Regions from separate parts of the Homo sapiens genome. Here region 1 is linked to region 2. The links are contacts of gene promoters, found by promoter capture Hi-C in blood cells and fetal thymus (Javierre and others, 2016). All regions are on one chromosome and are shown on one strand. Each heading gives the region's core, a stretch centred on a gene start or on the middle of the fragment in contact. The rest is flanking DNA. Distances are from core to core; before and after follow the strand shown. Region 1 holds the start of ERICH6-AS1 (ERICH6 antisense RNA 1). Region 2 holds the start of P2RY14 (purinergic receptor P2Y14).

Evidence for each region. The method cuts DNA at HindIII sites, captures the fragments that hold promoters and counts their contacts. A CHiCAGO score of 5 or more calls a contact.
Region 1: a contact is called between the fragment with the promoter of ERICH6-AS1 here and a fragment that was not itself captured in region 2, in 1 of 17 cell types (total B cells). The highest score is 5.5, in total B cells.

The regions. Positions count from the first base shown.
Region 1 is chr3:150,700,932-150,707,630 of GRCh38, forward strand. ERICH6-AS1 (ERICH6 antisense RNA 1) reads left to right here and starts at 2,633. Exons shown (of 3, transcript NR_121675.1): 1 at 2,633-2,736. It overlaps ERICH6 (glutamate rich 6), which reads right to left and starts at 2,989. Exons shown (of 14, transcript NM_152394.5): 1 at 2,565-2,989; 2 at 1,190-1,247. The coding sequence starts at 2,967. RefSeq lists enhancers at 2,865-2,944, 3,095-3,184. The HindIII fragment of the contact is 4,487 bases long and covers 135-4,621 here.
Region 2 is chr3:151,276,105-151,282,616 of GRCh38, forward strand. The region is part of intron 16 of MED12L (mediator complex subunit 12L); the gene reads left to right. P2RY14 (purinergic receptor P2Y14) reads right to left here and starts at 2,438. Exons shown (of 3, transcript NM_014879.4): 1 at 2,183-2,438. The HindIII fragment of the contact is 1,068 bases long and covers 3,083-4,150 here.

The DNA.
Region 1 (6,699 bases), core at 1,383-3,882, 580 kb before region 2:
CTTGTCCATAGATTCAATCATATTACTGGTTTGTCAACATAGAAGTGTTAGTATTGTTTGTTGGTTTTCAATTTTTAGAAACAACCCCAGAGCACTTTAATTATAATTAACAAACCATAATACAAGCATAATAAAGCTTGGAAAAGTAATATAACTTTATGTAAATATACACTGCATTTTAATATAATTTATCATTTCATATAGTTTGTTGTTAATTGGGAAAAAAGAGGAGAGAAGAAAGATGGAAGGAGGAAGTGCATTAACATGTTAATTTTTCATTATAGTCAATAGATACTAAAATTGATGAATCAAGAAGTAGAGGTTTAAATACCTCGAAGTCCTAAATGTTAGAAAAACTAAAAATAATATAACTACCAAAGTGGAGAGGTGGGAATTCAATACACATGTCAGAAATTGATAAACCAAGAAATGAAAATGTCATTTTAAATAATGGAAACAAAACTGAAGGTGAGTGGGAGTGGGGGTGAAGAAGGGCATGAGATTTTCATTTTTATACCTTTGTGTAGTTTGATTTTTTTAACCACATGTATACATTATCTTTATTACAAATTGAATTAAAAGGATAACTAAAAACATGTAAGTGAGACAGAACAATTCTCCTTAGACTTAAGAATTCAAAAGTTGCTTACAAAAGCAAAGTTAGGGTAACTAATAATTCAAGATCATTGACTCAGGTTTGGTGTGAGATTTCAGGGAATATTTACAAAGATGTTCCAGAAGGCATTTCACTGGTATCTTCTTACTATAGTTAAAGTGCCTGAAGGCTAATAGCAATAACAAGAAAAAGAAGAGAGAGAGAGGAAAAAGGAAAAGCTATTATTTCCACTCTCTTCCACAAAAGGCGTCCCTGGTCACTCTTGCATTTAGCCAATAAAAGCTATATTCAAAATTCTCAAGCACTTACAATTGCACACATGGCATATATAGTTATTCTTTCATGTTACATTGATAAGTGGACATGTAATCTCTAGAGCTAGGTAATAAGCTGGGGATAAGTGGGAACCTTTATCTCTTTCAAAGTGTCTACCAGTGTATATTTAAAAAAAACTTTTTAAAATAAGTAAGTCACAAATGCCCTGGATTATTTTACTCTACTTCCTAACATGTTTATCCAAAAGGTAAACATTATTGGGTTCAAAAAATGTGAAATTTGAAAACATTTTCTTACCTATCTATACTCATTTCAGACATGTCTTTCCTAAATGTCTGAAATATTTTAGGGAAACCTGTTGAATGAAACATTTAAAAATCAGCTATTCCCTCTAAATCAAAAGGTCAATTCTACCCCCCCCAGGAACACATGGCAATGTCTGGAGACTTTTTTTTTTTTTTTTTTTTTTTTGAGACGGAGTCTCGCTCTGTCGCCTAGGCTGGAGTGCAATGGCGCGATCTTGGCTCACTGCAAGCTCCACCTCCCGGGTTCACGCTATTCTCCTGCCTCAGCCTCCCAAGTAGCTGGGACTACAGGCGCACGCCGCCACGCCCGGCTAATTTTTTGTATTTTTAGTAGAGACGGGGTTTCACCATGTTAGCCAGAATGGTCTCGATCTCCCGACCTCGTGATCTGCCCGCCTAGGCCTCCCAAAGTGCTGGGATCACAGGCGTGAGCCACCGCGCCCGGCCTGGAGACATTTTTGATCATCGCAAGGATGTGTGCTTCTAGCACAGCCACGGGTAGAGGACAGGGATGCTGCCAAATATCCTGTAATTCACAGGACAGTCCCCAATCCTCCCCAACAAAGAATTATCCAGACCAAAATGTCAACACTAGAGCTTGAGAAGCCTACTCTAGAAGACTTCTCTGCTTCTTTTTTCAAGGAAGTGACTGGAGTGGCTTCAGCACAGGATGTTAAACACAAAAGAGAGTTGTTTTTTTTTTTTGCAGGACTGTTTCAGTAGTACAGCACCCTTAAGGCACTTCTCTGGAAATAATATGAGTGTGTGTGTGTGTGTGTGTGTGTGTCTGTGAGAGAGAGAGAGAGGGAGAGAGAAAGAGAGGGGGAGGGGAGAGGGAGGGGAGGAAGAGGGAGGGGAGGGGGAACAGAGAGAGAGAGAGAGAGAGATGTCACGGTGTGAATGCACGCAAAAATGTTATAAAAATGAGCACTCCCAGCAGCCTGGGCAACATAGTGAGACGCCAGATTAGCTGGGTGTGGTGGCGTGTGCCTGTAGTTCCAGTTACTCGAGAGGCTGCGGTGGGAGGCTTGAGCCCAGGAGGTCGAGGCTGCAGCCACTGCACTCCAGCCTGGGCGACAGAGCGAGACTCTTGTCTAAAAAAAAAAAAGCACTTCATACAGCCATGCCCAAGTTCAACTTTTATGGTGTTTCGCCTATATCCTAAATCGTGCCTCATCACAACAGCTCAGCCAAGGGTTCAGTGTCTCTGACAAGGGCGTGAGAGAGATTAGGTGTGTGGAATGGTGCATGCATTTAGAAATCAGGCACGACGCGCAGGTCGACGAAGGCACCACCCAGGAGTGGGTGGACCAGGTGCCCCCTGGAGACGAGAAACCCTCGAGGAAGGGGTGGGTCGGGGGCGGTACTTTTATGCGAGGAGGTGCTGGAGGGTGGGCTTGCGCTCGGCGTTTCAGTGCTGGTCGCGCTCTGGCTGGGCACGAACGTAGAGGTCAGGCTAGGGCTGACGATGCTGGCTAAGCGGGGGCGCACGTCTGGGAAGTCGTCGTCGTAGTCACCGATGTCCGTGACCTTCCAGAGGTACTCTTCGCTGAACGTCTCAGGGGCCTCCAACTCCTGCTCTTCCCCCACCAACTCCTCCTCCACCACCTCCTCCTCCTCCTCCTCCACCTCTTCCTCCTCCTCCTCCACCTCTTCCTCCTCCTCCTCCACCTCTTCCTCCTCCTCCTCCTCCTCTAACTCCTCCTCTGACTCCTTCTGGTCCTTCTTCCCCGGGTCTCCGAAGCCGCTAGGCGAGCGCAAGTGGGCCATGGCTGGCGGGAGGCGGGATTACAGCCAGCTCTTTGGCCGCGGCCCCGGTCGGCTCTCGCGAGCGCGAGCCTCTGTTGTGCGTTGGTCTCCCCGGGCAACTGCTTGCCCTGCGCCACCGAGCCTCCCGGATTTAAAGCGGCAGGAGCTGGTTAGCCGGATAGAATGTGGGTGCCGAGGGCCGGTGGGGGCCACCGCAGACTTCTTTCTGTCCCTGCTCTTCAGCGTCTCTGAAACCCCTGGCAGCCTGCGGAGAAACGATCTTTTCTTCGTCTCTCAGCTTATTTGGGGCCTTTTTTTTTTTTTTTAACTTGGGTGGAGGAAGTGGCTTCTAGCGACGGACACACACGGTGCCATTTGGTATTGCGGATGCTGGAGTCTGGTTATTGAGTAGACAGATGCTTGCTGGAACGTCCAGTGAAACTTTATTTACAAAATCAGGCGCCAGCCCTTGGGCCCTCGTTTGCGGATATTTTTAAAATAGCTTTAAATATTAATAAGCGTATTAAAATTGCCTTAAATGTTAGTTATCTTAAATATTGTTAGATTAATATTAATTAATCTTGATTGGCGACATTTTTAGCGTCCCATAAATTTTGCTCCTTGCTGTGATCTGGGTCCTGCTTCTTACTTGGCCCATCTATCCATCCTGGAGTAGAAAAGTCCTGAAGCATCTGGCCACCTAGGTACCACCTGCGTCCTTCTGGGACTTTGTATTTACTTACATTTTTGTAAAATATATACATTTTTTATTTTTGAGAGACAGGATGTCACTCTGTCACCCAGGCTGGAGTGCAGTGGCGGCATCATGGTTCACTTCAGCCCTGAACTCTTGGGCTCCAGTGATCCTCCCACCTCGGTCTCCCAAGTGGCAAGGACAACAAATGTGTGTCACCACGCCTGGCCAATTTTATATATTATATTATATTATATTATATTATATTATATTATATTATATTATATTATATTTATTTTGAGACGGAGTCTCGCTCTGTCACCCAGGCTGGAGTGCAGTGGCACCATATCGGCTCCCTGCAACCTCAGCCTCCTGGGTTCAAGCAATTCTCCTGCCTCAGCCTCCCGAGTAGCTGGGACTACAGGCACGTGCCACCACGCCTGGCTAATTTTTTGCATTTTCAGTAGAGATGGGGTTTCACCGTGTTAGCCAGGATGGTCTCGATCTCCTGACCTCGTGATCTGCCTGCCTCAGCCTCCCAAAGTGCTGGGATTACAGGCGTGAGCCACAGTGCCTGGCCTGTATTATATTTATTTTGAGACAGGGTCTTACCCTGTCGCTCAGGCTGGAGTGCAGTGGTGCTATCTCAGCTCACCGCAACCTCCTCCTCCCGGCTCAAGCTGATCCTCCCGCCTCAGCCTCCCGAGTATCTGGGACTACTTTTTGTAGAGATGGCGTCTTGCTATGTTGCCCAGGCTGGTCTCAAACTCTCGGTCTCAAGCTCCTGGGCTCAAGAGATCCTCCCATCTGGGCCTCCCAAAGTTCTTAGGATTACAGACGTGAGCTACTGTGCCTGGCTAGGGAATATTTTTGAAAGTAGAGTTCTTGCAGGCTAAAGGAGCAGGCAGCACAGATGAGAGGAGACATCTGAGTTGCTTTAAAAGGAAGGGCAAAATGTGGTGACCAGAGAGGAAAGTGAAAAGCTTTCCAGCAGGCTCACGGCAGGAAAGGAGGGTCAGGACAGGGAACTATGTGTACAGATATTGAGGTACAAATAAGGTAAGTGTAATTTAAAAAGAGAAAATAAGAAAAAGCTCATTTCTTTTCTGGACAATACTAACAGTTTGATGCTGGAAGCTATCTTAGAAGTTAGGAAATTCAACCAGGGTCCTCAGAGAGCAGACTGGAAGTCAGGATGTGGGGATGAGACACGGGGCTGGCAGACAGCAAGGGTGACAGTGCTTGTGCTTACTCCGCTTGTGCCTGCTGTAGCTCAGTTCTGTGACTGCCCTGGCATTTTCTCAATTGTGTGGTGAATTAATTTGTTTAAGTACTCCTTGTTTAGACCCTCTATTTAAGACCTTTTTTGAACATTTTATGGAATCTCCTTCCCTTGGATCTACTTACTACGGAAAGAACAGTCCCTTATTTTCTCATGAGTTGATGCCACTCTTGTTTTGGCCGTTCAGAGATAATATGATGCTGGGTCAGTTTATATTTTCCCCTTCTCCATTCCTGGTGTCTAGCTTGACTCAGGAACTTGAGATTTGAGAACCAGGCACCAGCCCTGACTAACTGTGACTTTGGGGTTACTGAGCCTCAGTTTCTTGGTGTGTTAAATGGAAATATCAGTACCTTTCCACTTAATTTATGGGGCTATTTTGAGATAAAATTTAATTATTGTTTATTTTCTTCTTCTTTTTTTTTTTTCCTAAGATGGCATCTCAATGTGTTACCCAGGCTGGTCTTGAACTCCTGGACTCAATCCTCCTACCTTGGCCTCCCAAAGTGCTGGGATTATAGGTGTGAGTCATCCTGTCTGGCCTATTTTCTGAGGACTGATTTTGTATTTTATTATTATTATTTTAGGACCACATAACTCTGTTTAGAAAATGTTTCTAATGTATTGAGTGCTTCAAAGGTATATTAGTTCGATTTCACACTGCTATAAGGAATTGCCTGAGGCTGAGTAATATATAAAATAAACAGGTTTAATTGACTCAGTTCCATATAACTGGGGAGGCCGCAGGAAACTTACAATCATGGCTGAAGGTGAAGGGGAAGCAAGGCACATCTTACTTGTTGGCAGGAGAGAGAGAGTGCAGGGGAAACTGCCACTTTTTCTTTTTTTTTTTTGGAGACAGAGTCTCACTCTGTTGCCCAGGCTGGAGTGCAGTGGCGCAATCTTGGCTCACTGCAAGCTTGGCCTCCCGGGTTCACGTCATTCTCCTGCCTCAGCATCCCGAGTAGCTGGGACTACAGGCGCCCGCCACTACGCCTGGCTAATTTTTTGTATTTTTAGTAGAGACGAGGTTTCACGTGTTAGTCAGGATGGTCTCGATCTTCTGCCCTCAGGTAATCCACCCGCCTTGGCCTCCCAAAGTGCTGGGATTACAGGTGTGAGCCACCATGCCCAGCCAGAAACTGCCACTTTTAAACCATCAGATCTCATTGAGAACTCCCTCACTATCACGAGAACCGCATGAGGGAAACCACCCCCATGATCTGATCACCTCCCACCAGGTCCTGCCCTCAACATGTGGGGATTACAATTCAAGATGAGATTTGGGTCAGGAAACAGAGCCAAACCATATCAAGAGGTAATGGATTTTTAAAAAATTTCCTATCTCAAGTATATAATGTTATGTAATTGTTCCCTATTGTCATCATTTGATATTTTGTTTGCCTTTCTTTAATTTTGTTTTTAATTGGCACATCATAATTGTACATATTCATGGGATACAGTGTGATGTTTCAATATGTGATACATTGTGTGAAAATCAAATCAGGATATTTAGCATATCCATCATCTCTTACATTTATCGTTTGTATTAGTTCCTTCTCACACTGCTAATAAAGACATACTTGAGGCTGGGTAACTTATAAAGGAAAAAGCTTTAATTAGGCCTCAGGAGACTTACAATCATGGCAGAAGGGAAAGCAAACACATTCTTCTTCACATGATGGCAGGAAGGAGAAGTGCCGAGCAAAAGTGGGGAAAGCCCCTTATAAAACCATCGGATCTCGTAAGAACTCACTCACTATCATAAGAACAGCAG
Region 2 (6,512 bases), core at 2,367-4,866:
TGCCCAGACAACAGGTGAAAACTGGATCTGTCCCAGGACATGGGGTCACCCAAAACTGAATGTGCAACAGAATTACCTGGAGGGCTTGTTAAAAGAGATTGCTGGGCTCCACCCCCATTGTTTCTGATTCTGTAGGTTTGGGGTCAATAATTTGCATGTCTGACAAGCTCACTGGTGATGTTGATTCAGCTGGTATAGTATCTGCACTTTGAGATCCACTGCTCTATCCAAACAAACTTGGCACTCTTGTACTGATATAATTTTCAATTAAAGGAAACACTCCTTATTGTCCATCATCCTCCACTAGACAGCCTTCTGCAGGTGAGGATGCTCATGATGATGGCAGAATATGCTTGTGTTGGTGTCAGCCTACCTCCTGGACTGGTCTGTTTTTGGTATTCTAGAGACTGCTCACACTGGGAGGTTGAAACAGCTCACTTGTGACCGACCTAACTTCTAAGGATATCCTGGGGCCAAATGGAATAAACCTGTGACTTCTGAGTTCATAGAGCCTTAGGCTTAGGGAAGCCTCAACATCTAAATTCACTCAGAAGCACTTTATAGAGTGAACGTTCTTCTAGGGAGCCGTGTTCTTCTTCTGTTCAGCACTTTAGAAGCATCATAGGTGGCCTTGCTCAGGATAGTCACACCCTCTGTACCTGCTTCAACTGTGAAGTGGGCACCGTAATACTTCAGGAAATTATACTTCTTCCTCTGCACCCGGCCCACTTCCCCTGTGTCTTCATGCTTTGAGTACCTTGGAATCTCCCCACTGTTCTTTTGGTTTTATTTTTGTTTGTTTTTGTTTTTGAGACAGGGTCTCACTCTCTCGCCCAGACTGGAGTGCAGTGGCCCGATCTCAGCTCACCACAACCTCTGGCTCCCAGACTCAAGCGATTCTCCTGCCTCAGCCTCCTGAGTACCTGGGATTACAGGCATGCACCACTACCACCCAGCTAATTTTTGTATTTTTAGTGGAGATAGGGGTTTTACCACGTTGGCCAGGCTGGTCTTGAACTCCTGACCAGCCTCTCCTGAGGCCACTCACCTTGGCCTCACAAAGTGCTGGGATTACAGGTGTGAGCCACCATGCCTGGCCTCCTTGTTTTTTTTTTTTCCAGACATGACAATATAGAGTTCATTCATATATACCAATGTGTTAATTGTGTGCACACAATTGTATGCATGTTTGTATATATAGTATTCATAAATTTTACCGAAATATAAAATTCATTGCATGTTTACAAATCATAAAATATGCCATTTTGGTATTTTCCGAGTGCATTGTTTTCTTTTTAACTTAATGGCTAGGTTTTTTTTTAGTGCTAAAACTGATTATCAAGTTTGTATGTTTTAGAAAGATGAATATACAAACTATTTATTTTTTTACTAGTGTGATCTTTGATTCATTTTCTCCGTAGGATTGATTGTCCTTGGTTAACAAAGTATATGTAGACAAGATGGATTGCATGGGCTTGGTTGAATAAGCTGACATTGTGGGTCTGTGCTAATTCTCCTGAATGTAATTTAATTTATAATGTTTAAAGAATTGTAAGTAATTTAGCTGATTAGTCATAGACTATAAATAAGTAGCATATGAACTCAAATATTTGCTATGCCTAGGACAGATATTTCTGTGATTTACAATTTAAAGGCATTTTATTTTAGTAGGTGTTAATGGGGTTAACTTATCCTAATAATGACAAAGATAAAAACTTTTACCTATATAAGTGTATGTACAAGTAAATGCAACTATATATCTGTACACATATGCAATTGCAAACAAAGACATACTGACCTAAGTATTATGCTAATCGATTTTGTAGTTTTGAGAAGCAATTTTAATACACATTTACGAGCTTTTGAAATGTTTGTCCTGGATGAATACCTTTTAAACATTTTCCTTGATATCTCTTCATCACAGATATATTTTGACAGCCACGATTGGAAATCCTAAATCATAAATGATAATATTTCAGTATTGGATCCCCATATTAGCATGGGGAAATATATTAATATACCAATTATAGTTGTCAAACAAAAAGTAACCTACTGAGAAAAATGTGAGTGGCAATGGTTCAGTGTTCCTCAGCTTTGTTGCTGCCCAGCTCAGAAATCTTTTCTGTTCCCATGCACCATTCACATACATGCAAGTCATTTCATGGAAAAGCTGTTTTCTTACCTGCGTCTAGGCCTTCATCTGTGAGAGTCATGCTTCACTCATTTTGAAATACCTCTCATTGTAGGCTCCAAGGTAACACTGTTACAGAGTTCTTGCTCATCTTCAACTACGGATGAAAATCAGGAACTTGACAGAAACCACAAGATAGTGGGTCCCTCTGCTGCTGTTGTCAGATAGAATTTATTGAAGACTGGGACGTGGAAACAAAGAGGAAGGAAGAGACGTTTTAATCTCTGTGGGTGTTAGGCTGACTTCTGAGCTAGTTCCTTTCCTCCAGTAATGCAAAAACAGTCCTGCTTTCTTATTTCTCCTCCTACTTTTCCCCACATCCCTACATCATCTGATGCACAGCCAGGCAAAAACCTGTTTTCTTTTCTAACCTTTGCCATTGTCAAATTCAACATGTGGTATGAGGTGGAGAACTGATGTGTAAGATATGGTTCTTTCTGAAGCACCCTCAGAAAATTGTCAGCAGCTTCACAGTATAACGTGCAGAGATGGGTAGTTGGAGCTACCTGGAAATGCGGAATTAACAGAATAAAGAAGTATTTTGACACCAATGTCGACATATTCTAGATAAGAGGTGTTGCATTGTCATTTTTCCCACATTAATTTTCCCATATTTGAACATTACTGATAAATAGATCACAAGTAGGACTTCAGATAAACTCCTCGTGTGTTAACATTTTGGTGTTTGTGCTGTGTTACTATTTTGAAAGTCTTCATATTTTTAGTTCCTTTCAGGCTCTGTAATATAATTGGTGATGTCCTGCAGTGCTCCACTGTCTTTCCCATTGACTATTAGTGCCATTAGATTTGGAAGTTTTCAGAAGATGGCTACAAAGTCCTCTTCAAAGTGTATAACTCAGAACCAGAAAGAAAGAAGACAAGGGGCTGAAAAGCTTACTTTATAAGGTTCCTGCATTTTAAGTGTATTTACTTAGGCTGTTCCATTGCCAAATTATGGGTAACAACTAGTAAAGTTCAGCTTGCCTTAAAAACATAGCTATACATTTAGTTATAATAATTATAACTGGCTTATGACATGCCCGTTACTATTCTAGTTGCTTTATATGTACTTGCTACGTAGGAGGCAGTGTTCTGGACATTGGAGATGGAGTAGTGACTGACACATACCCAAACAGTTATTTCCCTCATGAAGAGTATTTTCTTACTTTCTGTCTCACAGACTTGCTAGTCACTGTTGATCCTTGGCAAAGACCTGTGAGACACAGAGCTTGTTTAGAGAAGTTCGCCATTTCTCCCTGCCAGAGGGACTCTTCTTCAGACCCCCAGCGGGCCCCAATAGTCCTCACTGATGCTTTGATTGAGGGGCTAAGAATACTGATGTGCATAGAGAGGCTTGTTAGCTTCAGCTGCAGTGAGATCTGGTAGGTAAATAAACTTAAGGACAAGTGGATGTGAGGAGGAGCCGCTAGAGCCTGGTTATTACCAGGGCACATTGCAGAGTCCTCCAGATGTAAACATTTTGCTGATTAAATTGATGATTTGGCAGGAACCGTATCTCTAAGGTGCGACTCTCAAGACTTCCCTGATTTATTGCAGGAGATGCTGTTTACTCTGACAGTCTCAAAAACACCCATTAATTGTTCCGGGTCCCTTTTGTGCTTCTTGACTTCCCCGTGGGGTGTTTCACATAGATGTTATTGAGTATGACTGGGGAGAACATGATAATTTGTTGCTTCTTGACTTCCCCGTGGGGTGTTTCACATAGATGTTATTGAGTATGACTGGGGAGAACATGATAATTTCTTTGACTGGAGCTGCTTGCTTGCCTCTTAATGCCAGGAGTTGCAAAGTCCAAGGCCAAAAGGATAGCCCTACAGGTGGTCCCCTCGTGGCAGGTGGTACAAATGGGTTGGACTCTGTGTAAGACACTTGGGAGTAGAGGGAGTATGGAGAAATGGAAAGCTAAAGGGCCCACCCAGGGGGACAGTTGTGTCTGGAAGCTTGCCAGAGTCATGGGCCTCATCTTGGGATGGGCCAGTGTCTTCAGAACATTAAACGCTGATTTGCATGTACTGTTCTAAACACTCTGTGTGTTTTAGCTTGATTACTCACAATGGCTCCATGAGTAAAGTAGGTCTGTCTACTACTTCTTCCCCACCTTTTTCTTAATAGACAAGGAAACTGAGGCATGGAGATGTTACATCAGGTTGCTGGAGCTGGGCAGATCCTGGAGCCTGTGCACTGCTACTGCCTTTATATGTCTCCTCTGATTTCATTTGTTGGTGTCTAAATCGAATACCTTACAAACCAGTGTAGACCTGATACCCTGTGGGCTAAAACAAAACCTGAGTGTGCACTGTATTGGGCTTGTGAGCAGTCAGCTTGTGACCTCTGTTCTGTGGTTTTATTGGCACGTAGCAGTACAAGGATGGTGAGGGGTGGGTAGGGGGCAGACAGCTAGGCACTTGAAAGGAAAGCTCATCTGGAAAGATTGGATCGTCTCAAATGCACATACTCGTACACTCGATTGAAGCGTACTCTGTGCCTACTAGATCTTTTCACAGCCAAAACACCTGGCAACCCTTGGAGAAGTAACTATTCCTTTTTTTCACAAGTAAGAAAATAGAGCCTCAGAAAATTTAACAGTTGTCTAAGCTAGAAAGTAGCAGGACTGGACTTTGAAGTAGTCTTTAGGTTGTGCTGTACATTTTGTGGATATGCTTAAATCACAGTTTAGCTTGTACACATTTTCCTTTATTAGAATTGGAAGTAAGTATTAATGTTTGAAAAAATATTTTAGCCTGACAATATTTATTCTATCTTCATATGTTTTTGAAATTAGATATTTTAAACTAGGCACGGTGGCTCACGCATGTAATCTCAGCAGTTTGGGAGGCCGAGGCAGGCAGGTCACAAGGTCAGGAGCTCCAGACCAGCCTGACCGACATGGTGAAACCCTATCTCTACCAAAAATACAAAAAAAAAAAAAAAAAAAAAAAAAAAGTTAGCTGGGCATGGTGGAGTTCGCCTGTGATCCCAGCTGCTCAGGAGGCTGAGGCAGGAGAATCACTCGAACCCGGGAGGTGGAAGTTGCAGTGAGCTGAGATTGCGCCACTGTACTTCAGCCTGGGCAACAGAGTGAGACTCTGTCTCAAAATAAATAAATAAAAAATAAAAAGATATTTTATTATGACTTTTAGCAACGTAGGTAATGACTCTTTTCAACACTAGACACCAGGCATAATACAACATAGCCAATAACGACATTATAATTAAAATAATAGAGGGCCTGGTCCTTGTGTGCAAGAATCTTTTAAAAAACAAAATCTAAAATAGTCAATATTTTCCTTTTATCTGTGGTGTTTTGATTTATGCTAAATAGTTCTGAATTCCCATTTCCTTTGGTGGAATCCTAAGATTAAAGTACTGTGATTTCCTCCTGACTAATCTTTTTCTCAGAGCCCTCAACATAACCCTGATATGACAACCACCCCTAGCCCACCCCACGTGCTCACACATTCTCCAATACCATTTAGAGACAGGACTCTGCCTTATTAGTAATAGGACTGGTTATATATAAACATCCCTTGTGTATTCATACTACAAATAGAATGAGTTTAACACACGTAATCCCCAAATATGTCTGTAACTGTTTCCAGTCAGTTTCTATCCAGGCCGTCATCGACTGCGCATAAATAGCTGGCTGGCTTACATTTTGATTCCATAAATGTCCTATTTTGCTCCTTACCCCGGAATTCACCTATGCATAATTGTTACCATATGTCTTTTGAAATCATTTTTCTTTAAAGTAAGTACAGAGACAACTTCATTGTTACTGCCCTTCCCCTGCCTTTCCCTGGTTGCTTTATTGAGCATAGTGAGTAAGACACTAGCGCATCCGGCCTCATCCCCACTTGCTCTCTTGGAGACTTGTTCATGTGAGCCCTGTATAGACCTTATTCTTTTTCGTAGCTTTGTAGTATTCCATAATTTGTTTAATCAGTACCTATTGATGGATTTTCAGATAAATATGAACATTTTCAATGAATTTATTTTAACCATAGCAGATATTTGCTGGGTTATATAATTTAGTTTTTTTTTGTTTTTTTTTGTTTGTTTGTTTGTTTTGCTGGCAAGTTATTTATAATTGTGTGTGTGTGTTTTGTATGTGTTGGGGGGCATGGCTGCCGAAAGGATTCCACTGGTTGTTGAGAAAGATGTTGACGTAAGAATGTAGAGGATTTTAGTAAAGGCCCGGTGTAAACATTTTATGAAAGTACAGTGTACAAGGATATTTAAAGGAAGCATATTTGGAAATTGTCCTCTATAGGATCTCTGAAGGAACTAGCATCCAAAATGC